7 separate regions of the Homo sapiens genome follow, and regions 1, 2, 4, 5, 6 and 7 are each linked to region 3. The links are contacts of gene promoters, found by promoter capture Hi-C in blood cells and fetal thymus (Javierre and others, 2016). All regions are on one chromosome and are shown on one strand. Each heading gives the region's core, a stretch centred on a gene start or on the middle of the fragment in contact. The rest is flanking DNA. Distances are from core to core; before and after follow the strand shown. Region 1 has its middle 40 kb from the start of MYO1G. Region 2 holds the start of POLM (DNA polymerase mu). Region 3 holds the start of NPC1L1 (NPC1 like intracellular cholesterol transporter 1). Region 4 holds the start of MYL7 (myosin light chain 7). Region 5 has its middle 5.3 kb from the start of YKT6. Region 6 holds the start of PGAM2 (phosphoglycerate mutase 2). Region 7 overlaps GCK (glucokinase).

Evidence for each region. The method cuts DNA at HindIII sites, captures the fragments that hold promoters and counts their contacts. A CHiCAGO score of 5 or more calls a contact.
Region 1: a contact is called between a fragment that was not itself captured here and the fragment with the promoter of NPC1L1 in region 3, in 5 of 17 cell types (non-activated CD4 T cells, total B cells, monocytes and 2 more). The highest score is 7.9, in non-activated CD4 T cells.
Region 2: a contact is called between the fragment with the promoter of POLM here and the fragment with the promoter of NPC1L1 in region 3, in 3 of 17 cell types (M2 macrophages, M1 macrophages and M0 macrophages). The highest score is 7.1, in M2 macrophages.
Region 4: a contact is called between the fragment with the promoter of MYL7 here and the fragment with the promoter of NPC1L1 in region 3, in 3 of 17 cell types (M2 macrophages, erythroblasts and total B cells). The highest score is 8.0, in M2 macrophages.
Region 5: a fragment that was not itself captured here is called in contact with the fragment with the promoter of NPC1L1 in region 3 in 3 of 17 cell types (M1 macrophages, M0 macrophages and M2 macrophages); the score reaches 8.4 in M1 macrophages.
Region 6: a contact is called between the fragment with the promoter of PGAM2 here and the fragment with the promoter of NPC1L1 in region 3, in 8 of 17 cell types (M0 macrophages, erythroblasts, M1 macrophages and 5 more). The highest score is 7.8, in M0 macrophages.
Region 7: a contact is called between a fragment that was not itself captured here and the fragment with the promoter of NPC1L1 in region 3, in 7 of 17 cell types (M1 macrophages, M2 macrophages, total CD4 T cells and 4 more). The highest score is 8.3, in M1 macrophages.

The regions. Positions count from the first base shown.
Region 1 is chr7:44,936,859-44,940,471 of GRCh38, reverse strand. No RefSeq gene overlaps it. Among named protein-coding and RNA genes, the nearest start is that of MYO1G, 40 kb to the left of the region's middle. The HindIII fragment of the contact is 1,716 bases long and covers 1,491-3,206 here.
Region 2 is chr7:44,081,280-44,085,199 of GRCh38, reverse strand. POLM (DNA polymerase mu) reads left to right here and starts at 2,670. Exons shown (of 11, transcript NM_013284.4): 1 at 2,670-2,949. The coding sequence starts at 2,762. RefSeq lists a silencer at 2,105-2,684 and an enhancer at 2,396-2,896. The HindIII fragment of the contact is 8,170 bases long and covers 1-3,920 here.
Region 3 is chr7:44,538,993-44,542,650 of GRCh38, reverse strand. NPC1L1 (NPC1 like intracellular cholesterol transporter 1) reads left to right here and starts at 1,321. Exons shown (of 19, transcript NM_001101648.2): 1 at 1,321-1,445; 2 at 2,309-3,658. The coding sequence starts at 1,392. RefSeq lists an enhancer at 2,028-2,649. The HindIII fragment of the contact is 6,836 bases long and covers 1-3,439 here.
Region 4 is chr7:44,139,411-44,142,845 of GRCh38, reverse strand. It overlaps MYL7 (myosin light chain 7), which reads left to right and starts at 1,514. Exons shown (of 7, transcript NM_021223.3): 1 at 1,514-1,543; 2 at 1,772-1,885; 3 at 2,059-2,134; 4 at 2,419-2,523; 5 at 2,986-3,064; 6 at 3,277-3,325. The coding sequence starts at 1,541. RefSeq lists an enhancer at 1,860-2,702. The HindIII fragment of the contact is 19,152 bases long and covers 1-3,435 here.
Region 5 is chr7:44,193,753-44,197,628 of GRCh38, reverse strand. No RefSeq gene overlaps it. Among named protein-coding and RNA genes, the nearest start is that of YKT6, 5.3 kb to the left of the region's middle. The HindIII fragment of the contact is 3,272 bases long and covers 775-3,876 here.
Region 6 is chr7:44,063,387-44,067,282 of GRCh38, reverse strand. It overlaps PGAM2 (phosphoglycerate mutase 2), which reads left to right and starts at 1,716. Exons shown (of 3, transcript NM_000290.4): 1 at 1,716-2,167; 2 at 2,271-2,451. The coding sequence starts at 1,754. It overlaps DBNL (drebrin like), which reads right to left. Exons shown (of 13, transcript NM_001014436.3): 13 at 1-3,896. RefSeq lists a silencer at 700-769 and enhancers at 1,950-2,019, 2,080-2,129, 2,320-2,379, 3,024-3,133. The HindIII fragment of the contact is 4,752 bases long and covers 1-3,193 here.
Region 7 is chr7:44,158,314-44,161,702 of GRCh38, reverse strand. The region is part of intron 1 of GCK (glucokinase); the gene reads left to right. Among named protein-coding and RNA genes, the nearest start is that of MYL7, 19 kb to the right of the region's middle. The HindIII fragment of the contact is 6,327 bases long and covers 1-3,389 here.

The sequences.
Region 1 (3,613 bases), core at 1,099-3,598, 400 kb before region 3:
TTTATATCTAAAAAGTAACTTGCTGGGATTTTGATTTGGATTTCATTAAATATATAGATCTAATTGGGAAGGACTGACATCCTGACAATAGTGACTCTTTCTGTCCATGAACATGGGGTATCTCTCCATTTATCTAGTTCTTTGATTTCTTTCATCAGAGTTATATGGTTTTTCTCATATAGAACTTGTACATATTTCTTAGATTTATACCTATTTCCCCTCCCCCCCCCCTTTTTTTTGGTGCTAATATGAATGCTGTCTTTTTAATTTAAAATTTCAGGCCAAGTGCAGTGGCTCACACCTGTAATCCCAGTGCTTTGGAAGGCCTAGTTGGGATGCTTGCTTGAGGCCAGGAGTTCAAGATCAGCCTGGGCAAATAGCGAGACCCTGTCTCTACAGAAAAAATTAAAACTTAGTTGGGCATGGTGGCATCCACCTGTAGTCCTAGCTACTTGGGAGACTGAGGGGAGGACTGGTTGAGCCAGGGAGTTTGAGGTGACAGTGAGCTATGATCACACCACTGCATTCCAGCCTGGGCAACAACAAAGTAAGACCCTGTCTCTTAAAAAATTCAATTGTTCATTACTGGTATATAACAAAGCAATTTGACTTTTATAGATTAACCTGGTATCCTACAACCTTGCTATAATTGTTTATTAGCTTCAGGAGGTTTTGTTTTTGTTTTTGTTATTCACTACATAGACAATCATGCCATCTTTAAAAAGTTTTATCTCTTTTTTAGTTTTTATTATTTATTTATTTTGAGATGGAGTCTTGCTCTGTTGCCCAGGCTGGAGTGCAGTGGCACAATCTCAGCTCACTACAACCTCCACCTGCCAGGTTTAGGCGATCCTCCCACCTCAGCCTCTGGAGTAGCTGAGATTACAGGCGCCCGCCACCACGCCTGGCTCATTTTTGTGTTTTTAATAGAGATGGGGTTTCACCATGTTGGCCAGGCTGGTCTTGAACTCCTCACCTCAGGTGATCTGCTCACCTTGGCCTCCCAAATTGCTGGGATTACAGGCGTGAGCCATTGCACCCGGCCTTATTTCTTTTTTAAAAAGTCATCCTGGCTGGGCACGGTGGCTCATGCCTGTAATTCCCAGGACTTTGAGAGGCTGAGGTGGATGGATCACGAGATCAGGAGTTCAAGACCAGCCTGGCCAACATAGTGAAACCCCATCTCTACTAAAAATACAAAAAAAAATTAGCAGGGCATGGTGGTGGGCACCTGTGGTCCCAGCTACTTGGGAGACTTAGGCAGGAGAATCGCTTGAATCCGCGAGCCAGAGGTTGTGGTGAGCTGGGATCACACCACTGCACTCCAGCCTGGGTGACACAGCAAGACGCTCAAAAAAAAAAAGTCACCCTGTATACCTTTTGTTTTCTTTCCTTATCTTATTGCATTAGCCAGGTTGCCCAGTACAATGTTGAAAAAGAGTGGTGAGAGGGAACATCCTTGCTTTGTTCCTGATCTTAGTGGGAAAGCTTCAAGTTCCTCATCATTAAATATGGACAATACTCATTTCTATTTCTGCCATCCATTGGGTCTACAGATATCATTAAGTTTAAAACGTGACACAAACCACAGCTTGTGTTGATTAATTCCCCTGAACATTACACATTTCTTATATACTAGATTCTTTCCAACAAATGCATTGTATTTTTAAATTTTGTGTCTTCAAAAGGTCAAATTGATCTTTCTATTTCTTTTGTCACATGAATGTACATGCACAAATATATACGTGCAACATGTATATATGATCATATAGACATATATAGCAACATAGATACAGATGTTACATACATATAACCAGTTTAGCTGAAGAGCTCTAGCTCATCGGCCCCTAATGCAGAGTTTCTGGCAAGTAACTAAGTATGTCTATTCCTGACATCTATGAACAATTTGGGAAATTACCGAAGGTGGGTTTGCAGAACACTGGGCCCACTACAGCACCACCTTCCTCAACCTCCACCTGCTCCTCTCTGATTTGTGGTCCACAGAGGTTTCTCTGGGTCTTTGCTCATTCCCCTTTCCCCAGAGCACAGCTGTCTTGCAAGCACCTCTGGAAACACCTAGGAGAGAGAGTCACAGCCCATTTCTGTGGACATGCCCCAGGGTCACCTTTCTTCAATGGGTCCCACTTTGTGACGTGGCTCAGATTCAGGAGTGGAGAAAGAAGTCTCCAGTTTCCATTTTAGTAACTCAGAGCAGGGTAAGAGGTTTTGTTTTTACAGTGTAGATAAGACCCTGGTAGGCTGCCCAACTCACTCAGTCCTAGGATTGATACCATAATTATTTTAGTCATTGTTCTAATGGCTTCTAATAATGCTTTTATTGGTACAATACCTGCTAAGAAATTTATAGCAGATGGTATCATTAGGTAATGGGAACACACATATCTATAAGTCATGGCCATTGCTTTTTGGTCATTTTCACTAATCCAGACAATTAAGAAAATCCACTTTTATACTTATTCAGAGGTCCCCACTTCTGCTCCCACTGCCGTTCAGCTCAGACTTGTGTCTTGGAGAAGAGTTAATGTGCATGTGTCTGTGAGGGGTGATATGCCATCTCATCCCCTCTATCTTTTTTCCAATGTCTTACCCCCTCAGGGTCTCTCATCCACCTGGGGCCCAGCAATGTTGTGGCTGAAGAGGGGATGATTCTGGTTCCTGCCCAGTTGTGCCCCATCTGTCACTGACGCTGTTAGAGGGTGGGAGATGCAGCAGTCTCAGCTGGCAGGGGGCTTGCTATGTGACCATGCACAGTTTTATTTGGGGGGCTGACCTCTCTCATGTGGAGGACGCCCTTCACCAGAATAGAGCAGCCACGGCCCATGGGCCCCTTGAGACGTGTGTGCCTCCACCTCTTTTCTGTTTGGGGAGCCCTTTGCTCAGCCTGGAGGCCCTCCATGGGGCAGCAGGTCCTCTGCTCCACTGGCTACACCCTATGCTCCATCATTTTAGGCCAGAGAAACACCAGGGCCTCTCCTGTGCCCAGTGAGAAATGCAAGACTCAAATCGGAGTAAGTCCTTGTCTCTAGGGAACAGTACTTCCCATTCTCTTTGCACTCTGCCTCGATTCTTACCCTGCTCCTGCCTTCAGAAGTCTCCAGATGATCAATGCCTGTAAGTCTCACCCTCCTGACTTCATGGGACAGGTGTGCAGGGGAGGGCTGGGAGAAGGGCATTATTCTCAAGCTTCTAGAAAGTCTTTTCTTTGACTCTACTCTCACAGGAGCCTTCTTATAGAATGTAGTTACAAATCTCAAATCGATTTTGGAATTTCTAAAATATGGAGACAGCCTGGAGTATTGACATGGCATTCATGAATGTGCTGGGGAGACTGCCAAGCACCAGCCCAGAGAAAACAGCCTTCAGAATTTCAACTTATTTTGTCACATGTAATTTTATAACACAACCACAAAGTTTCCTTGGCTATTCAAAGAATCAATTCAGTAATTTTTTTTTACATTTATTTATTTTTCTATTTGCAAGACAGTTGTCTGTTAAGAGATGACGCTCACAAAACTTTTAAACTATGATAGATTTCAGTAAAATCACTGAATACTAAAATATAATAAAACATTAGGGCCAGGCACAGTGTCTT
Region 2 (3,920 bases), core at 1,421-3,920, 460 kb after region 3:
TTTTAGGGAGATAGAGTTTCACCATGTTGGCCAGGCTGGTCTCGAACTCCTGACCTCCAGTGATCCACCCGCCTTGGCCTCCGAAAGTGCTGGAATTACAGGTGTGAGCCACTGTGCCCGGCCTCTATATGAGCAGCTGGAGAAGTTAGAAATCTTGAGATTTCCGGCTATGTGACTCCAGGGCAGTAAGCATTATAGAAAAGCAAGCCAAGTGAGAAACGGCAGGTCGCTGTTTATGCCCATTCTTTAGCAAAGTTCAGGCCCCACCACAATTCTAACCTTGTCTTATGAATGTGGTTTCAATCTCCAAACAAGGAGGGGGTCAGTTTTTCTTGCCTTTAACTATGAACTAAATTCCTCTCATAGTTATGTTGGCCTCTGCACTACAAGAAGAAGAAGAAAAAAAAAGAAATAAGAAAACCAATTTAGTCTGTGAGGTTAGATGCAAGAGGGAGGCAGTCATGTTAGATTTCTCTCATGACTTACAATTCTGCAAAGGTGGTTTCACCTCCACGGCAGGCCACCTCTCCCTGGGTATAGGGCACATCTTCGTCCTGCAGAGCAGGCAAGTCCCTCTCTCTCCCCACCTCCTCACCCCTTCTTGCCCCCACTGGCCAATCTTCATGAATCCTTCAGCCCCATGTTGTCCTAGCAGACACTTTGCAGCAACCACTCAGAGGGCCTGGCTGATTTCTAAGCTAGGCAGTTTCTTCCACTGTCATTTGGATGAGATTCCTTGCACAAACATTTTTGCACAGTTGCCCAGTGTTTTAAGTATTCAGGTCTCATAGTCTTAAAAACTGCCTCTGCCTTCCCAGGAGAGAACAAGGGCTCCAAGGGGAGCCCAGGTGCTCTGGCCAGACAGAGGACATTAAAAGGAACAGAAATGGTTTTAGACAGCTAGAGGGATCTGCTCAGGGGATATTTGGGCAGAGCCTCCTCCTTGAGAAGGGTAGGAGCCAGATCCACAGACGAAGACCCTTAGAGCCTGCCCATCCCTGCTGGCACAAGGGGAGGATGGGGAGAGAGGGACCATACGCAGGCCTCCTGGCTTCTGTATGTGGGTCCTGAGGCCCAGGAAGCTCTACAGCCCTGAAGAGGTAGATGAATTAGGAGGCTGGGAGATGGTGTAGGAGGTCAAGAGGATGCCTGGGCTGAGCCATCTCCCCCACTCCCCTCAGCCCTGTGCTCTGAGTGCAGAGATGGGGAAGAGCCAGCCCACTAAAGATGTCAGAGAGGAGCCAAAGAAAAAGGATAGGTGCTCAAGGAGTCTGGGGCTCAAGACTGAGGACGATGGGGCAGTGATGAGGAGAGGCATGTGGAAGGGGGTTGCATCTGATCTGGTGTCCCATCAGTTAGGCTGAGCAGTGCCACACTACCGTAACAGAGGTTACAAATGGAGTATATCTAAATAAGATAGACAGAAGACTTGATATTATCAAGACATCAGATTTCCCCAGCTTGATCTATAGATTCAATGCAATCCCAATCTTGGGAAAGGAATTGCTGGATCAATGTGTATTATTTTGTTTTCATTTTGTTGGATGTGGTTGCCACATTGGCTTCCACAGTCCTTCCTATGGATTGCCAATTACCTCGCACCTTCAACATGTGTGGTCAATTTTTTTGAATGTTTGATAAACCCACAACTGAAGATATTCTCATTTAGGTATTCTGTAACGACTGGACAGGTTGGGCACTCTGGTCATAAATTTATTGACCAGGATTTCTTCTAAGAATCATCTACGTGAGTTTTTTTGCTAATTTTTCTATTAAATTATTGTCTTTTTATCTATGGACAATTTGATAAGATTATCATGAGATAATCTTAATTCCAAAATATCTCACACTTTATCCCAGTTTATCTTCTGACTCTAATTTTTAATCAGATTTAAAATTTGTCTGTAGTCCAGTTTATCATTCTTTTCCTTTAGTGTTTCCAAGTTTATTGTGATATTTAGATCATAAAAACATTCACCGACTTTTTTCCAGTACGTTGTTGGTTTCCTTTTTAGATGGAAATGTTTGACCCATCTGGAATTTATTTTGGTGTTAAGGAATGAGGAAGGGCACCAACTTCTATTTTTCCAAATGGCCTGCCAGTTGTCCTAATGCCATTCGACTGAAAAATCTTCCCGCGTGTTTGAAGCGACCGCCCCACCAGCGCATTGGAAACCCGCGTGTCGGTCCTGCGCCCGCCGGCTTCCGTGTGACAGTCCCGAGCGCAGAGGGATCGGGCACAGCCCGCACGCGTCCGCCCCGAGCCGCCGGCTCAACCCTAGACCCAGCCCCGGCGCCAAGGACACAGCCCACCCCGCTCCGCCCGGGCCTAGGTCCCAGTTCACCCTCCCTAGCCGGGGACGCCCCCTTGACCCCGCCTCCTCCACCCCCTCCAACACCCTCCCCGCCCCGCTCCAGCCCAGCCTCTCCTCCCGGAGGCCAATGGGGCCGAACAGCGCTTTCCGAGACATTAATTTAAATAAAAGGCGGGTCCTCTGCCGTTATTTGCATGGAGGCGGGTCTTCCGGAGCGGCCGGGACACCCAATCCTGTAGGAGCCCGGACCCTCCCCAGCGCTCCGACTGGCCCAAGTAGCGAGCCCCACGGAGAGGCCTCATTTGCATAGGGCGGGGCCACGTCCTCTTCCAGCCGGCGGCCGCCCGCCCGCCCACCCGCTTCCGTCAGCCTCACTGGGGCTTCCTTCCGTCTCGCTCGGAGTTTCCCTCTGCGTTCGCTCCGCGCTGCTGGAGGCTGTCGTCCCAATGCTCCCCAAACGGCGGCGAGCGCGGGTCGGGTCCCCTAGCGGCGATGCCGCTTCCTCCACGCCGCCCTCGACGCGCTTCCCGGGAGTCGCCATCTACCTGGTCGAGCCTCGCATGGGTCGCAGCCGCCGGGCCTTCCTCACAGGCCTGGCGCGCTCCAAAGGCTTCCGCGTCCTTGACGCCTGCAGGTGCGGGGCGGCGCGGCGCGGCGAGGGCTTCCATGGCACTTCTGGTTTTGGATTCTAAGTTTGCAGTGGCACTTCGTGGTCTTGTGACCTTTCCCTGAGCCTCCATCTCCTCTTCTGTAAAGGGTGCTATTAATTAGGGCGAGGCGTGTTTTAAAGGATCACTGCGAGAATCAAAACCAGAGGTCAGGGGTAATTAATAAGCAGTAGGCCGGGCGCGGTGGCTCACGCCTGTAATCCCAGCACTTTGGGAGGCCGAGGCGGGCAGATCACGAGGTCAGGAGATCGAGACCATCCTGGCTAACACGGTGAAACCCCGTCTCTACTAAAAATACAAAAAATTAACCGGAGGTGGTGGCGGGCACCTGTAGTCCCAGCTACTCGGGAGGCTGAGGCAGGAGAATGGCATGAACCTGGGAGGCGGAGCTTGCAGTGAGCCGAGATCGCGCCACTGCACTCCAGCCTGGGCGACAGAGTGAGACTCTGTCTCAAAAAAAAAAAAAAAAAAAGTCGTATTTGCTAACAGCCCTTCTGCCTGGGCTATGTCCCACCTGTGAGCGAGACTGACTTCTCAAGAGGCCCGGAGCCCGCAGGCTCCTCTGTCCTCAGGCCTGAGTAAATAACACGACTGAGAAGCTCTTGTAGGAAGGGAACCAAGAGAAGAAAAAATGGCGGCTACAGAGACAACACCCAGAGTAAGGGAGCTGGGGGTGCCCCCTAGTTTGGAGGTTGAGAGAGCAAACGAACCTGGGGCTAGTATTCCCCCACAGTTGTGTTTGATTTTTTAACATTACCAGGGATCAGTAGTGCGCCAGACCCACTCAGGAGAGGATGATAGCAGCTTAGAGTGTACAAGGCACTATCTTTGTACAACAACCCCACAGGGTGGATATGTTATCTCTGCTTTACAGAAGAGGAAATCAAAGTATAGACACGTGGCTTGCCCAAGAGCCAAACAAGTATGTGGCAGGCAG
Region 3 (3,658 bases), core at 72-2,571:
TCACCGACTGCTGTCATCTGGGGTCATCTCCCCAATAAACTCTTTGCACTGGGATCCTTGTTTCAGGATCTGTTTCTGGAGGAACTAGATGACAACACCGGGAACAGAGGACCTAGAGAGGCAGCTTCATGGGTGGTGGGGTGTCCGCCTCTGCCGGCCAGGGACTTGGGAGCAGTGCTGGGAAGGTGCTGGATGGAGCTGTCACTCACAGGGGCAGGTCCTTGGCTGCTGACTGTCTTCCTCTCCACTATGGCTGTCTTGAGAACTTAGGGGTCAGCCTGACCCTGCCTTGGCCCCCTTCCTCTCAGCCTCTGTCTTCTCCTGCATGAGGCTGGGTGGCTCCCCTGTGAATCAGGCAGGGGTCCACAGAACACTAGAGACAGGTCCCTTCCTGCAGCTGTCTCCAGTAGGTGGCCACGCAGGAGATGTTCCCAACAAGCTGCCCTTATCTGCAGCTCAGCTTTGGTAATGGGGGCCCATTACCAAATGGGGGTAAAGGTCATGGCCCATCCTGGTGATAGTGAGAACCCAAGGTAGGCCTTGAAGATTCCTATCAGGAGGGAGCAGAAAGTGTGTACCACACCCCTGGGCCCAGGTGGAGCAGGGCTGCTGCTCAAGGCTCCCAGCCATGCTCTGTCCCTTGCTAGGGGTGACCGGTGGGACAGGCCTGGGCAAGGGACAAGAGGGAGAAGGTCGGGGGGAAGAGGGGATGAAGAGCAAAGTGAGCAAAGGAGAGTCTTCCACTATCTGGGGTCTCTGTCAACTGTCAGGCCCTAGAGTGAGCTGTTCTTTCCCTTTGCTTCCTGGAGGAGGGGACTTTTGTCACTGCGTCACTCCACCCTGCCTGCCCCTCCGTTATCAGGCTGTTAATATTAATTAACAACAGTTGCTAGGGATGACAGTGCAGAGGGTTCCTCTGAGCCCATTGCTGGCCCTGGTCCCAAGAGGGGGTAGGGCAGAGCTGGGGTCTGAGGCTGAGCCAGGGAGGGTGCGGAGGTTCCTCGGCCATGCTGAGCTCCTGAGGCCGGGTCCCAGCCAGTGCCTGGTCCCATCTGTGCCTCCAGGCCCTGGCACCAACTCCAGCAGTGTTAGGGGCTAATAGCGTGGTCTCTCCCCTAGCTGACTCAGCCCTCTGGCTTCGGTCGCTTTGGGAAGTGAGTGGAGACCCTAGCACCTGCGTGATGAGGCTCATCTAAAGCGGGGGCCTGTGGACTGGGGCCAAACAGTGGGAGTGGTGGATCATTAACCAGCAGGGCTCAGCCTCATTGGTCCCTAACCCAGTCAGGCCAGGGTTGTCATCGAAGGGGAGGAGGCTGCCTTAATGTGTGTTCAGCCCTTGGCTGTTCCTGAGGCCTGGCCTGGCTCCCCGCTGACCCCTTCCCAGACCTGGGATGGCGGAGGCCGGCCTGAGGGGCTGGCTGCTGTGGGCCCTGCTCCTGCGCTTGGTGAGTCCCAGGGCTTGGCTCCACCTCCCCTGCGGCCTCCAGTTAGGGACCCTGGGGCCAGCCGTGTACCAGGCGAGCGTTACTGGGTGACAGCAAGGGAGCCTCAGGGCCTGCGGGCTGGGCAAGTCTCTGGACACATGAGGGATGCCAGGCCCCACAGAGGAGGGGTGCAGGTGGAGGGTTTCCAGGTTACAGGCTTGAATGCACACAGGGGTGAAAGAGGCTGCTGGACTGGGGTGCTCCAAGTCCCTCCTGTCACTGGCCCTACTGTGGGGTCCAGGCCTGCAGTTGAGGGAGGTCTGAGGCAAGGAGGTGCTGGGATGGGGTTACCTGGTGAGCATCACCTAGGGAGGACTGAGCACTCTGGAGGCTGGGAGAAGATCCAGCGCTGGCACCTCTTAAGTTCCTCGCTTACTTTGTGTCTGGGAGGTGGGTGACAGCTTTTGGCCTCAAGCAGGTGGTGGTAGTGGTGGTGGGAGTCGGGGGGCCTCCTGAACAGACTCTCCATGAGAGACCCTGGCCTCTGGATGTGGTGTACAGTGTGGGGACTCAGGCTGACTTTGACGTGGGCAGAGCCCGGGACCTTGGAGTCAGCTTTGCCTCCTTACCCATCTCTGGCCTCTCCAGCATGACTTTCCTAAGCTGCAGGTCTATCAGGCCACCCCCAGGAAGAAAGGCCAGTGTTGTCACTCCAACACTGGCTGGCTGGCACATGCCTCCAGGAGGCTTCCTACTCCCCACACTCCCCGCTTCCCTGCCCCTGCTCCATGTCCTTCTTACCCTCACACCCTCCCTGGCTGCCTGCTGCCTGGATGGCACCCAGCTGTGTCAGGGCCCACGCGTGATGTTGCTGTGCTCTGCAGGCCCAGAGTGAGCCTTACACAACCATCCACCAGCCTGGCTACTGCGCCTTCTATGACGAATGTGGGAAGAACCCAGAGCTGTCTGGAAGCCTCATGACACTCTCCAACGTGTCCTGCCTGTCCAACACGCCGGCCCGCAAGATCACAGGTGATCACCTGATCCTATTACAGAAGATCTGCCCCCGCCTCTACACCGGCCCCAACACCCAAGCCTGCTGCTCCGCCAAGCAGCTGGTATCACTGGAAGCGAGTCTGTCGATCACCAAGGCCCTCCTCACCCGCTGCCCAGCCTGCTCTGACAATTTTGTGAACCTGCACTGCCACAACACGTGCAGCCCCAATCAGAGCCTCTTCATCAATGTGACCCGCGTGGCCCAGCTAGGGGCTGGACAACTCCCAGCTGTGGTGGCCTATGAGGCCTTCTACCAGCATAGCTTTGCCGAGCAGAGCTATGACTCCTGCAGCCGTGTGCGCGTCCCTGCAGCTGCCACGCTGGCTGTGGGCACCATGTGTGGCGTGTATGGCTCTGCCCTTTGCAATGCCCAGCGCTGGCTCAACTTCCAGGGAGACACAGGCAATGGTCTGGCCCCACTGGACATCACCTTCCACCTCTTGGAGCCTGGCCAGGCCGTGGGGAGTGGGATTCAGCCTCTGAATGAGGGGGTTGCACGTTGCAATGAGTCCCAAGGTGACGACGTGGCGACCTGCTCCTGCCAAGACTGTGCTGCATCCTGTCCTGCCATAGCCCGCCCCCAGGCCCTCGACTCCACCTTCTACCTGGGCCAGATGCCGGGCAGTCTGGTCCTCATCATCATCCTCTGCTCTGTCTTCGCTGTGGTCACCATCCTGCTTGTGGGATTCCGTGTGGCCCCCGCCAGGGACAAAAGCAAGATGGTGGACCCCAAGAAGGGCACCAGCCTCTCTGACAAGCTCAGCTTCTCCACCCACACCCTCCTTGGCCAGTTCTTCCAGGGCTGGGGCACGTGGGTGGCTTCGTGGCCTCTGACCATCTTGGTGCTATCTGTCATCCCGGTGGTGGCCTTGGCAGCGGGCCTGGTCTTTACAGAACTCACTACGGACCCCGTGGAGCTGTGGTCGGCCCCCAACAGCCAAGCCCGGAGTGAGAAAGCTTTCCATGACCAGCATTTCGGCCCCTTCTTCCGAACCAACCAGGTGATCCTGACGGCTCCTAACCGGTCCAGCTACAGGTATGACTCTCTGCTGCTGGGGCCCAAGAACTTCAGCGGAATCCTGGACCTGGACTTGCTGCTGGAGCTGCTAGAGCTGCAGGAGAGGCTGCGGCACCTCCAGGTATGGTCGCCCGAAGCACAGCGCAACATCTCCCTGCAG
Region 4 (3,435 bases), core at 265-2,764, 400 kb after region 3:
TGGTGTGCACCTGTAGTCCCAACTACTCCAGAGGCTGAGGCAGGAAGGAGCACTTGAGCCCAGGAGGTTGTCTGCAGTGAGCTCTACTCATGCCACTGCACTCCAGCCTGGGTGACAGAGCTCAGTGGCTTACACCTGTAATCCTAGCACTTTGGGAGGCTGAAGCAGGCAGATCACCTAAGATCAGGAGTTCGAGACCGGCTGGCCAACATGATAAAACCCCGTCTTTACTAAAAATAAAATAAAATAAAAAATATATATAAAAATTAGCTGGGTGTGGTGGCACATGCCTATAATCCCAGCTGCTTGGGAGGCTGAGGAACAAGAATGGCTTGAACCCGGGAGGCAGAGGTGGCAGTGAGCTGAGATCGCGCCACTGCACTCCAGCCTGTGCGAGAGTGAGACTCTGTCTCAAAAAAAAAAAAGGGAATTTAAGAAATTTAAAAGAAAACTCTTGTTATATAAAAAGGGTATTGGGTCTGACAGATAAGAGCTCCTGCACTCTACCAGCCAGCTACTGACAGACATAGGTCTGGCTCCAGTGGAGGGGCAGCAGCCAGTGAGCCCAGCCTGGGGTGGCCCACTCCTGCTGCCTCCAGGATGTCCCCTGTTTCCCCAGCCCCTCTGCTGTGCCCTCGGCCCCAGAAGCTGGCGAGACTGCTTCTCTGGAACAGCATCACGCAGGCCTGCCCATCGGCCCACTGTGCACCAGGCCTTCTGGGGATACAGATGTCAACCAGGTGGGGTGCTCAGGAGGGGCACAGAAGCCAGGAATGACAAACACATCAGCCACCAGGCAAATGGGAAATGTGCCCCAGAAGCTCCCTGCTGAGGATGTTAGGGAGAGCATTCTGAAGTAGTGTGGTTGAGATGAGGCTTGAGGAAGGCAAGGCTCCAAACAGCAGGGCAGACTGGGAGCAAGGTAGACTGCATGGGAGGGCAGCTGATGGAGCTCCTTAACCCTCTGGAATTGCCCCAAAGCCAAGCAAAGTGTTCTTCTTGGGGTCACAGCTAGCTCAGGGATGCCTTCTGCCCCTTGGTCAGAGGGGCAAAAGGTCAGAGCCTAGGGTCACCAAAACCTCTGGGAAGCCCCGGGGGTCTCAGGCCACAGACCATCCTCAGAACTACACACTGCCCTCCCATGCCTGGCGGGGGCCCTGGACTGGCCCTCACCAGCTGTCTTCTTGCACTGGCCAGGGTTCTGGCTGGACTGGCAAGGAGGGGTGGTCAGATACAGGAGTAACTGGATCCCTTCATCAGGACCTAGGGTGGTGAGAGCTTTGAGCCTGCTCTGCTCCAGGCAGACATTGTGTCTGGCCCTGCCAGGATGGATAGACAGCAGGATGTTACACGTTGAGGACATGAAGGTCATCAGGAATGTGGCTGGAATCTGTTAGGCCTCCCCCAGCCCAGGCGGGGGCTGCCAAGTTTGGGCCTATCCTCTGTTCCTCTCCTTATTTGGACCTTCAGGTGATAAGGCTGAGACATAAAGGAGGCTGGGCCCTGCCACCACGACAGCAGCCACACCTCTGCAGAGAGAATGGTGAGTGCCTGCTGGGGAAGAAAGGCTAGCGGTCTCCCAGGTGCTGGCCTTTGGGCTGGGGGAGCAGAGTTTTCTGTGCTTGTGTTGGGTTGAGGGTGGTCCCCAGGGAGAGGAAGAGGATCCTGGCCCTGGCTCTCCTGGGAATGCTCTGGGACTGTGCATGATGGGTGGGGTGGGGAGACTCTGAGGAGTTGGGGAGAGGACCCCTCCCTACTCACAGTGTTGCAGGCCAGCAGGAAGGCGGGGACCCGGGGCAAGGTGGCAGCCACCAAGCAGGCCCAACGTGGTTCTTCCAACGTCTTTTCCATGTTTGAACAAGCCCAGATACAGGAGTTCAAAGAAGTGAGTGCCCACTCCCAGTAGCCTCAGATCCCATCCTGGCCCCCCCACCCCACCCCACATACATACCCCCCTTCTACCCTGACCTTGCCTCTCACACCACCCAGGTCTCTCCCCCACCTCCCACCTTCCCTAGAGCTGGGGGCTGCTCCCACCTGAAGGCCCCCATCCCACAGGCCTTCAGCTGTATCGACCAGAATCGTGATGGCATCATCTGCAAGGCAGACCTGAGGGAGACCTACTCCCAGCTGGGTGCGTGCACCCACCTCCCACCCTGCGCACTGGGGTCCCTACTCTGAGCTGCTGGGCGGGTGGGAGTGGCTGGGGGGACAGGACTCTGCTCCCCTGCTTCCCCTCCTCCCCGTCTCCTCACACTGCCCTTCCCCCCTTGTCACGCCTTGCTTCCACTTCACCTTCCCGACCCACAGCTGCCTCTGCCCCTCCAGCCCCTGTGGCCAGGATGGAGGGAGGGCGGCCTGGGCCTTCTGGGGGACACCCAGGGTCCCTGTGTGCACCTCATGCCCCACCCCCACCAGGGAAGGTGAGTGTCCCAGAGGAGGAGCTGGACGCCATGCTGCAAGAGGGCAAGGGCCCCATCAACTTCACCGTCTTCCTCACGCTCTTTGGGGAGAAGCTCAATGGTGAGCCTGGGACAGAGCTGGGCACCCTTGGCCAGGCAGGGAGCCTGCACCCTGCCTGAACCCCACCTGAACCCTGCCTGAACCCCACCTGAACCTTACATGAACCCCACCTGAACCCTAACTGAACCCCACCTGGACCCACCTGGACTCTTCCTGGCCATGACCCATTCCAAGCACATCCTCTGCCCCAGAATCCCATGTGCACTGGTCACCCCAGTGCTGACTTGGAGCCAGGAAATGTGCCTTCAGCCCCCACCCCCAAATTCCAGTCTCCCAGCCAAGCTGCCCGCCTCAGGAGGATGACCATTCCCAGCCCCACTGATCCCCGAGAAACATTTTATGTTAGGGAATACCCCCACCTCTTCTGGGATGTGGGAGGCTCCTCATGCAGCCCAGTTCCTCCTGCGGGGGACCTGGGATGCTGGAGACATGGATGCTCACCTGGCTGCCTCGGCCTTCCAGGGACAGACCCCGAGGAAGCCATCCTGAGTGCCTTCCGCATGTTTGACCCCAGCGGCAAAGGGGTGGTGAACAAGGATGAGTAAGTATGGGCCCAGCCAGATGAGGAGCACCGTGGTGGAAGCAGAGAGCGGGGTGAGGCCCCTAGTGAGGGGGGCTGCCTGTGCTTCGGGGCCTTACACTGCTCTTTGGGGTGCAGCCAACCCTTCCCTGCGCCATGGGAGCCTCCGTACCCACCTTCCCTGTGCAGTCACTCCCCCGCAGTCTCCTGCTCAGACCCTCCTCACCCCCCAGGTTCAAGCAGCTTCTCCTGACCCAGGCAGACAAGTTCTCTCCAGCTGAGGTGAGGCTGCCCAGCCCCTTCAATACTCATCCCCAGCACCTTCTCTGGGCCTTCACCCATGACCCAGAGCCCAGTACCAGTGAGGCAGTTGCTGGAAGGGTGAGCCGAGG
Region 5 (3,876 bases), core at 1,161-3,660, 350 kb after region 3:
TATAAGCAGAGGGGATTATAGCAAACTGTTTCCTTATCGGCTGCCCTGCAAGACAAGCTCAAGATTTCTGTTAGTTACCAGTTTCTTTAACCCTGTCGGGCACAGTTTCACATGTAATCAGAAAGGAACTTGCAAGACACATACAACTGAAAGAAACTTGGTCTTTGGAAGTTGTCAGTAAGGTCACAAAGTTGTGATGCTAGAAGCAGCCGTATCTGAGATTATGGGAAAGAGATGATATATTGGAAAAACAACAGCATCACTTTAAACATTACTCTAAATCAAGGTTTCTCAACCTTGGCACTATTGACATTTTGGGTTAGATAGTTCTTTCTTGTTGGGAGACTGCCCTGTACATTGTGTAGGCAGCATCTCAGGCCTTTGTAGAAATGTCAGTACCAACCCACCCCCTCCCCACTGCACAATCAAAAACGTCAAAATGTCCTTTGGGAGCAGTAGTTTTGAGAAACATTGCTTTGCAGATATATATGTTTGTTTGTTTGTTTTGCTTTGTGACAGGGTCTTACTCTGTTGCCCAGGCAGAAGTGCAATGGTGTGATCCCACTCACTGCAACCTCTGCCTCCCAGGTTCAAGCGATTCTCATGCCTCAGCCTCCCGAGTAGCTGGGATTACAGGAATGCATCCATACACGCGGCTAATTTTTGTATTTTTAATAGAGATGGGATTTCACCATGTTGGCCAGGCTGGTCTGAAACTCCTGGCCTCATGTGATCCACCCACCTCGACCTCCCAAATTGCTGGGATTACAAGCTTAAGCCACTGCGCCCAGCTGAGAAACATTGCTTTAAATAATCTGTGGTGAAAGGAAGTTCCCACCACCTGCCCACTCACTCAGTACCTCTGTCACCAACCCTCTTCCCTGGGTGTTTCCAAGTACAGAGGGTGGAAAGGGCTTTTCCACATTTCCCCTGTTTTGGTAGTAAACATTAGGAACAGCCATTGGCCGTGGCTAGGCTCAGCCACCCACAGATATGGACACAGTAGTCTGACAAGCTGGGTTGCTGGGTGCTATCAGTCCAGGCTCAACTGCTTGCACTGACACCATTTCCCTATAGGAGGCAGGTGAGAGCCATTTCTGAGGAAAGTCTCTGGAGCCCCTCTTCCTTCCACTGAAAGTTGTGCAAAAAGATCAGGAAGACAGCGCTTGGATGGAATAAATTTCAGTGTATCCACTTGACACATTATAGTGGCTGTCCCAAAGTTTACCTTATGCCAAGTACTTTCCATGTGCCACATCATTTAATCCTCACAAAAACAGGGGAAAATATTATTGCCACCCTACAGACATAGAGACTGAGATTCAATTTAAGGAGATGGTTGGTAAGGGACAGAGTTGGGGTTCAGATGTCAACAGTGAAATGCTTAACAAACTGTCATGCAGCCCACTCCTGGCAACTCTTCCTGCTCCTCTCTGGCCTCACTCAGCCTCTACTGTTCCAGGAAGCCTCATTCATAGTCATGTGGTTGCAGACTTCCCAAGCTCACTGTGTTACCAAAAAGCAAGACCTGCCTTCTGCTGCATCGCCCCAGCTGTCACCCAACTTGGATTCAGTCCCAGCACTGACACATCACAAAATCACAAAAGTGAGCAAACCATTACCTCCCTGAGTCTCCTTTTGTTTTTATCTATAAAACTAGAAAAATATTCTTTCCATAGGAATGTTGTTGGAAATAATAAAACATTATATTACAAGCTCTAGTCATTGTTGATGTTTAACAGGTAACAGTGATAATTATTTGTCTTCTCATTAATGAAGAAAAGGATTATTAATCATAGAGGGTGGAAGGCATCTATGGGAAGTAGAGATTTGAAGATAGGCTAAAACCCAAGTAAGGCCTCTAGATTAGATAATAGTATTGTATCTATTTTAATTTCCTGCTTTCCATCACTGTGCCATGGTTATATAAGAGAAGTCTTTGTTTATAGGAAATATACACAAGAATTTAGAAGTAAAGGGACATTGTGTCTGCAACTTACTCTTACAGGGTGTGTGTGTGTGTGTGTGTGTGTGTGTGTGAGAGAGAGAGAGAGACAGAGAGAGAGAGAGACAGAGAGAAAGAGAATGATAAAGCAAATACAGGAATCAGGATGAAGCGTATCTGTTTGTTTGTTTTGCTTTGTGACAGGGTCTTGCTCTGTTGCCCAGGCAGGAGTGCAATGGTGTGATCCCGCTCACTGCAACCTCTGCCTCCCAGGTTCAAGCGATTCTCATGCTTGTATTGTTCTTGCACCTGTTCTGCAAGTACAACATTGTGGGAATGGAAAATGCAGGAAATGGGCAGTAAGGCTATGAACGAAGCCCGCACAGGAGTGTGGGTAGCAGAGTTCTCTAGTCCAGGCTCCCACCTGAGGTGCTGGGACCTAGAAGAAAAGCCTCTCTGCAGACAGAACTGGAGTTAACGCTGTCCACGATAAATGGCCCAGGCCCTGTTAAGTTTGCCCCATTGAGCAAAACAAGTACCCACCCGCCTTTGCAGCCTTGCCTAGCTCACATAAGGTGCCAGCCCTTGCTGTACAGCAGAACCTTTGGGGAGCTGGACAAAAGCCTATCAAGGAGCATACCCCCAGGAAGCCCAGTCCAGGTGGGGAGCCCAGCCACACAATGGCCCTTGCCCCCACACCTCCTCATTCAGTCAGCTAAGGCCATGGCAGCTGAGCTGCCTCCACAGCTCATATAGGAAAAGGGTGTGGAAAGGGGCCACCAATGTGGTCAGGCCTCCATGGCCTGAGTAGGTCACCAAGCCTCAGGTGCACAGACTTGATGTCATCAATCAGGGTCTGTCAGCACACCTAGCCCTCAGGAACACTGCTCCCCACTGCAACCCCACACCAAGGCATCCTGGGCTCCCTCTGGGTTCTCCAGGCCCCAGGGAAGACAGACAGAGTCTGCCACCAAAGGTTTGAGCTCTGCCACTGGCTACGAAGCAATAGGGGATGTCAGAGCAAGGGAGGAACAGGACAGGAGTATACGTGGGCAGGAAGGGATTACAGCCAAGGAAGACAGGAGGCAGGTGCCCTGATTTTGAGGCTGTGCCCCAGCAGGGGCTTCCCAGAAGCTGTATTTGTCCTAAGACACCCCTCTGCAGCTGAGGGGCTAGAGATGGATATGTAGCTGTGTTAGGCCATTCTTGCATTGCTATAAAGAAATACCTGAGACCAGGTAATTTATAAAGAAAAGAGGTTTCATTGGTTCACAGTTCTGCTGGCTTTGCAAGAGGCATGGTGCTGGCATCTGCTCAGCCTTTGAGGAGGCCTCAGGAAACTTACAGTCATGGCGGAAGGCAAAGGGGAAGCAGGCACATCACACAGTGGAAGCAGGAGTGAGAGAGAGAGAGGCACTGGGAGGTGCCACACTTTTAAACAACCAGATCTCGTGTGAACTCAGAGCAAGAGCTGACTCATCACCAAGGGGATGGCCCAAGCCATTCATGAGGGATCCACCCCCATGACTCAGACACCTCCCACCAGGCCCCACCTCCAATATTGGGGATTACAATTCAGATGAGATTTGGTGGGGACACATATCCAAACCATATCAGTTATCAGTAGCCATACTGGATGAATGCCAGGAACTTAGAATTAGGACACATGGTCATTTAGGCAAGTGGCTTGTCCTGTCAATGGTACCCTGATAGTCGTGGGGTTGCCCCGTACAAAAAGCGAGAGGAAGTCTACAGAGCTGTCAAAGAGGGGCAGGTGGAAAGGCCTGCAGAGGAGTCCCCTGCTCCACAACCAGGCGTGCACCTCCCACATCCTCGGGGCTGTAGGCCCCACATGAGAGCAGAAAGAAGGATGCAGAGGAAGGCCAAGAACACAAGGTGTGCCCTTGGAAAGGCTGGGCACACCAAACACA
Region 6 (3,896 bases), core at 467-2,966, 480 kb after region 3:
GGACACAAAGCCCACCTCTCTGCCATGTGCCCCTGATGGTCGCTGCCCCAGCTTGTTTGCTTTCTGTAGGGCTTGGGTCTTTGCCAACCCCTCTACCTGAATTGCTCTCCCTGTAGGACTCATCATAGCTGAGGCCTTTGCACTCCGCTCTTTCCACTCACATGTCACCTCAGGGCTGTCCCCGGCCTCTCCTTTCCCATCTCTCCCAGTACATTATGGTCCTTCCTTCCTAGCATCTGGTGCTATCTACGGTAGGCATGTTTAGCTGCTGGTACGATCCCTCCTCCACTGAAATATGGGCTTCATGTCTGGCCCCTGTGGGACTGCCAGAGCCTGGTCCTCAGTCATGTTTAGTTGGGCTAGTGAATCAACTCTTGGTCAAAGGGACAAAAGCAGATGAGGAGATGTGGCTTCAATCAGGATCAGTGTGGAACAGTGAGACCTGCGCATGGCACTGCTAGGAGGGATGGGTTCCACCTGCCAGCCTTGGGGGTCCTGGCAGCCGACAGGACTTTGCCCACTGGGACTTGTCTGCCAACCTTTGGGTACAGAGCCTTAGCTTCACAGGCCCCAAGCCAGGAGCCCCTCCCCAGGTAGGCCAGCAGGGATGGAGGGAGGCCTGTCGAGGGTTTCTTGCACACTCAGATCCAAGTCTCAGAGTGGTGGTCCCTCTGCTGGCCTCTCACCTACCCGCTCCTGTTATCAGAAGTGTCGCAGGTGACAGTGTGGTCACTGGGGTGGGAGGAAATGGGAGGCCCTGGATGGGGCCCATGCCCAAGGGTCTGGCCATGGCCCCTTCATTAGGGCCCCAATTGTGACTTTATTGCTCATAGTCTCTTCCCTGCCTTGGTGGCTCTCATCCCCCAAACCTGAATGCAGAAGTCTTGGTCCTAGACTCAACTCCGTGCCACCCTTCAGCCTACGTTGTGGGTTCCTGCTAAGCTGAGCATTTACCTAACAATCAAGACTTCTGACAGTCCTCAGTCCTGCCCCCAAACCCCCTTGGATTTCTCTTTTTCAAGGTGGTTTCGGCTAGGAGAGTGAGCGTGGCTTGGGTGAGGGCAGATAGGGTGGGAGCATGGGGCATGTATGGATGAGACCTTGACAAAGGGACCCCGGAGGAAAGACAGGGGCCCTTTCCCCCTTTGTCCTGGAAACCCGGCTCAGCCCCAGCCCTTGCCCATTCTGCTGCTGCTGCCTGGTACCTTCCACAAGGCCAGACTCCTCTCCACAAAGCTGTGGTCTGCACCAGCTCCTCTGGCTCTCCTCCTCTGCCTGCTGAGGGCCGCCTCCTAGCCTGGCTGCCAATCACAGGAGAAAGGGGTTGGGATTTTGTTTGTGCCTCTGTCTGAGCAGAGAATGGCTGATAGGCCACTGAGCGTTGCCCTGGAGAGCCCCTCTGTCCCTGCTATCCCCATCTCCCCTGGCCCAGACTTCTGCCCTTCACGCCCATCCCTGACCAGCAGCCCCACTCAGTCTGGGCTCTGGGTGCCAGCTGGTTATAGACATGCCACCTGAACCCAGGCCAGGAGCTGGTGGATGCGTGGGGCTATTTTAAGCACAGCCTCTTGGCCTGCACACTCCCCTGGCCCCCAGCCCCCAGCAGCTCAGCTACTGGTCACCTGCCACCGCCTGGAATGCTGATTGGCAGTTGGCTGGGGTGGGTGGGGGCTGGGAAGACACTATTATAAAGCTGGGAGTGTTGGGAAGCAGCCGTCCCCGTCCAGAGTCCTCTGTGGTCCCTGCTGCCACCATGGCCACTCACCGCCTCGTGATGGTCCGGCACGGCGAGAGCACATGGAACCAGGAGAACCGTTTCTGTGGCTGGTTCGATGCAGAGCTGAGTGAAAAGGGGACCGAGGAGGCCAAGCGGGGAGCCAAGGCCATCAAGGATGCCAAGATGGAGTTTGACATCTGCTACACGTCAGTGCTGAAGCGGGCCATCCGCACCCTCTGGGCCATCCTGGACGGCACGGACCAGATGTGGCTGCCTGTGGTGCGCACTTGGCGCCTCAATGAGCGGCATTACGGGGGCCTCACAGGCCTCAACAAGGCAGAAACGGCCGCCAAGCACGGGGAGGAGCAGGTGAAGATCTGGAGGCGCTCCTTCGACATCCCGCCGCCCCCGATGGACGAGAAGCACCCCTACTACAACTCCATTAGCAAGGTGGGCTGCCTTTGCTGGGAAGGCCTCTGGGAAGCTGCAGAGTGGGGAGTCGGGTGGGGGCCCACTGGCTTGGGAGGGAAAGCAGCGTGCCTGTGTCCCCCAGGAGCGTCGGTACGCAGGCCTGAAGCCCGGGGAACTCCCCACCTGCGAGAGCCTCAAGGACACCATTGCCCGGGCCCTGCCCTTCTGGAACGAGGAGATTGTTCCCCAGATCAAGGCCGGCAAGCGAGTGCTCATTGCAGCCCACGGGAACAGCCTGCGGGGCATTGTCAAGCACCTGGAAGGTGAGGCCACCTTCAGGAGCCTGGGCAGGGTGGGTGGGCAGCAGCCCCAGCTGGCTTCTCATCTCAGCAAAGTCTCTCGCCCATGGACCAGGCTTTCTAGGCGTGGGGCTCCACATCATTCACTGAAAAAGGAGGGCTGAGAAGCCATTTTTTAGTTTTGTGAAATTTTCCCCATTTCTGTGTAACTGGGACACACTCCACAGGGGCTGACTGCACTCGAAGCTCGCTGTGTCCCGAGGTGGGGCAGGCTCCAAAGGTGGCATCTGCCAAGGGACACCCAGCTAGGAAACGGAAGGGCTGGGCTTAGAGCATCTGGCTCCAAATCCCAACTTACTGTGGGGCCCTGGACAAGCCACCTCCATCTCTGGGCCTCTCCCTTTTCCGGGGTGGTGGGGAGCTCCCCCTGGTACTGAATTCCTCTTGATGTAGGCTTGGACCCCTCGCAGGGCCCTCCCCCATCAGGTCCTCAGAATCCCTGCATGAGCTTCACCACCTATCTCCCTCTGGAGCCCCTCTCTGGGCAAAGGAAAGACCAATCAAAAGAGGGGTGCAGGACTATGGAGTGGCCAGACTCTGGGCTTGCAGCTGGGCTCCCACTGAAGAGCAAGGGCTGACAAATGGGCCCGGGATGCATGGGCGCAGTAAGGCCTCGCCCAGAGTGACTGGCACCTCCGCTCCGCCTCCCACCTTAGTATTCTGACACAAGGGCAGTCTAAATTAGCATCTGAATGACCTTAAAGCTTGTTGAGTCCTGGAAAGGCTAGAAGGGTGTGCCCCAGACCTCCTGCTCCTAGGGCCGTTGGGCAGTTGGCCAGAGCACCCAGACCGGCAGGCCCCGGAGACCCAGCCAGCCCCAAGCCTGCCCGCTCCAAACACGGACACCTGGCACCTGGCACTGGGGCCAGGCAGAGGGAAGGACCACCTGCCTCCTCTCCCTTCCGGAGACTTCATGCAGCCCCATGACCCTCCCACAGCCTGGTTTGGGGAAAGGGGACGCACTTTTGGTGGTGAATATGAGGGATTTCACTCTGACTCCCCAGAGAACATTTTCTTAAACCCTCCTGCACGGAGCAGGGGTGGAGTGGCGCGAACATCAAAGGTCGAGCTGCTATTCCCAGCTCAGGGGCTGCAGGAGGCAGGCAGGGTCAGGTTTCGACCAGGCTCGGCCTCCCTGTCCCTCCTCCAGCTCCATTCCGCACTTGCTCCTCTGTTCAGGATGTCTAGAATTTAGAGCACTTTAGAAACCAAAGGGTGCTGGGCACGGTGGCTCACTCCTGTAATCCCAGCACTTTGGGAGGCTGAGGCAGGCAGATCACCTGAGGTCAGGAGTTTGAGACCAGCCTGACCAACATGGTAAAACCCGTTTCTACTAAAAATACAAAATTAGCCGGGTGTGGTGGCGCTCACCTGTAATCCCAGCTACTTGGGAGGCTGAGGCAGAATCA
Region 7 (3,389 bases), core at 97-2,596, 380 kb after region 3:
TAGCTTGAAACAACAAACCTTTGTTATCTCACACAGTTTCTGTAGGTCAAGAATTCAGAAGCAGCTTAGCTGGGTGGTCTGGCTTGGTGTCTCTCCTGAGGTCAGGGTTTTGGCTGGGGCTGCATCACCTGAAGGCTTGACTGGGGCCAGAGGAGCTGCTTCCAAAGTGGTCCACTCACATGGCTGGCAAGTTGGAGTTGCGTATTGGCAAGAGACTTCGCTTCTTCTCAATGGATCTTCCCAGAGTTCTTGTAGGCAACCTCATAGCATAGCAGTTGGCTTCCCCCAGAGGGAACAGTCCAGGAGAGAACAAGGCAGAAACCACAGGGTCTTTTCTGGCTTAGGCTCCAAAGTCATACTCCACCATTTCTGCATTATCATATTAGTTACACAGGCTAGACCTATTCTGCATGGAAGAGACTATACCATGGGGTGAATACCAGAAGCAGGGCTAATTGAAGGCCAGCTTCAAGGGCGGCTACACATTCCCTTTCAACAGTATGTCATGAACATCTTTCCATGCCAATAGAGCAGATGAATCTTACCATTTTTAATGACTACATGTAAGTGTAGCATAATTTATTTAACCAACCTCCTGTAGTTGGGTATGTGGGTTGTGTCTCGTTTTTTGATAGTAGAATTAATCATCTTGAATATCCATCACCAAACTTGTCATATTATTTTCTTTTGATGAATGAAAAAGAAAATCAAGTCATGTCTGTCAATCAGAACCCTGAGCAACTAAGAAATGGGGGTACCACTGGGACATAGAGCAAGGTCCCTTCTGATTCTGCTCTTGTCTTTCTCTCCCCATGAAATGGGGAGTTCACTATCTACTGAGACATCCTAGCCCACAGCTGCACAGTTCTGTCTTTTTAGAAAGCTCTAAGCAGAAACAATGTTCATCCATCCTCCTCGGGACAGCCCTTGAGCTACTGAAGACTCTAAGCATGTCCTGGTCATCCTCCATGAGCCATCATCTCTGAGGCCCTCCCCTTCTTGGCCCCTCTTCTCTGGACAGGTTCTGGACAGTCTTGCCCTTCCAAAATTCCTGGAAAGCAGGAACTGTTCCTGCTACAATGACTCTCAACTCCAGTGCAGTACAGACTGTTGGTGTCACCCCTTATCCTGAAGAAGAGGCACTGAGACAGGACAAGGGTGGGTGCCCAGGAGGGCTGGCATGAGTCATGAGAATCTGGTCCCGGAGAATTAGACGGTGTGGGGAAGTAGGGGTGTTGGGCCGCTTTCTGGCCTCATGGATGCCAATGAATATCAGCAGGTGGCTCCCAGAAAGGAACTCTAGGGGATGCCTGTTGCTCTAAATAGAGGCTAGAGAGGGCACTGGCAGTTCAGTCAACCAAGAAAGGGGGCCCACTTGCCTCAGCTTCAGGCTTTGTACACATCCTCAGCCTTTCTTGAGAACTGAATTTAGATTCTCCTCCCCTGTGCTGTGTGCTTGGCCCAGAAGAAGGGCAAGTCTCGCTGGGTGGCTGCTTCTTGGCCTGGCTGAACCAGAAGGCCCCAGTGCCACTCCAAACCTGGGTGTGAGCCCTGCCCCCATGAGCAAACAGTAGCTCAGAGCTGGGGGCTGTGGGGGTCAGTGGCCTGTCACATGAGATCTGATGAGGCCATCTCTGCTCTATATTGGGAAAGGGATCAATTGTATCAAGGGCTTTCTTGGGAGTGATCACTCTGGCCATTGGCGAGAGACCTGGCATTCTGACAAGGCACCCTCCATACCCTGACCCACTTGCCAGCTCCAGCTAATTTTAGCAGGCTTTGGCAGGTGCCAGCAAGTACATAGCATGTGGATGTCACTCCCAGGTGAGCCCAAGGAGAGGCCTGGGCCAGAGCCTGGAAGTCATGGTCTATGCCCATGGAGGCACCCAAAGCAAGCCTGAGGCCTGGACTTTGCAGTCACAAAATTAAGAATGATACCCCTGTTTTTTGTTTGTTTTTGATCAGTTGGCCACCTTCCTCCACCACCCCTTCCCCAAGTTCCATACAGACCCCTGGATTGTATGAAATGCAAATCGAACCTCTCTGCAGATGAAAATCCACTGGGGATCCCCTTGCCTCCAAGAGCAAGTCCAGACCTGCACCAGCGCGGGCCAGGCCCCCTTAGGACCCCCTCCCTGTCCAAGGGCATTTCAGTAAGTGTTCTGTGGCCAAGGCAGCCTGGTGACTTTCTGCCCGCACAAGGCTGAGGAATGGAAGATGGGTAGGCTGGCTCTGCACACCCCCTCCTGCTGGGCAGCAATCCCTACCCCATGTTCACAGAGTGTGGCCGGCTGCCCCATGGCTCTGTCCCCGTGGCCCTGTCAACTGTTACCCACATGGCCTACCCTCCCTTTCTGCCCTGCCTCTGACCCCATGGCAGGGGGCAGAGTATTTGAGCAGCCGCCAGGCTGAGCCCTTTCAGTGCAGAAGCCCTGGGCTGCCAGCCTCAGGCAGCTCTCCATCCAAGCAGCCGTTGCTGCCACAGGCGGGCCTTACGCTCCAAGGCTACAGCATGTGCTAGGCCTCAGCAGGCAGGAGCATCTCTGCCTCCCAAAGCATCTACCTCTTAGCCCCTCGGAGAGATGGCGATGGATGTCACAAGGAGCCAGGCCCAGACAGCCTTGACTCTGGTAAGGGTCACACCAAAGTTAGGGACTTTGCACTGGGAGAGCAGCACCCAGGGCAGGGCCCTTGGTTTTGCAGATTACCAAAACTAAGGCTGGGGGCAGGGAAGGCGAGCAGGCTTGGGGCACCTTGGAAGGAGGCACATGGGCCTTGGGGGTCCTGGCTAGGGCAGCTGTGCCTGCCACTGGCCCTCTGCCCACCACCCCTCCTCACTGTGGCTATCCAGTGTCCAGCCTCTCGAGGGGTTCTAGGGTACTTATTCCTGGAGCTAACGGTGACCCAGGACACCAGTGTCCGGGGCCTGGCCTGGGGCTTTTATGGGGGGAGCTGGCTGGCTGCCCAGGGCTGTCTGGCTCTCTGGGGGCTCTGCATGGCATTTCCAGGGGTTGGTGGATCAGGGATTCTGTCCCTCAGGAGAATGTGGGCACTAGCCCAAGGCCACTCACTTCTGTGTACATAGCCACCTGAGGGCCCAGGAATGGAGGGGGCCAGGCTACAGCTGGACATCTGGCACTCGGATGGGCTCTGGAGCCCCCAGGCCTGCAGCATCTGCCCAGGGACTGCCCTGGCCCTTGGCCATTTCCTCAGGGACCCACAGCTCCACCAGCCGGCCCCTCCCAGTGCTGGAATAGACAGTTCCTCAGTCCACATCTGCCAAAGGCGGCACTAGAAGGCATCCTGCCTTTTTTACTGCGTTCTGGAGGTGGGGTCACAAAGCACTGCTCACTGCATAAAAGGGACAGCATCCTGCCCCTGGCAGCCCT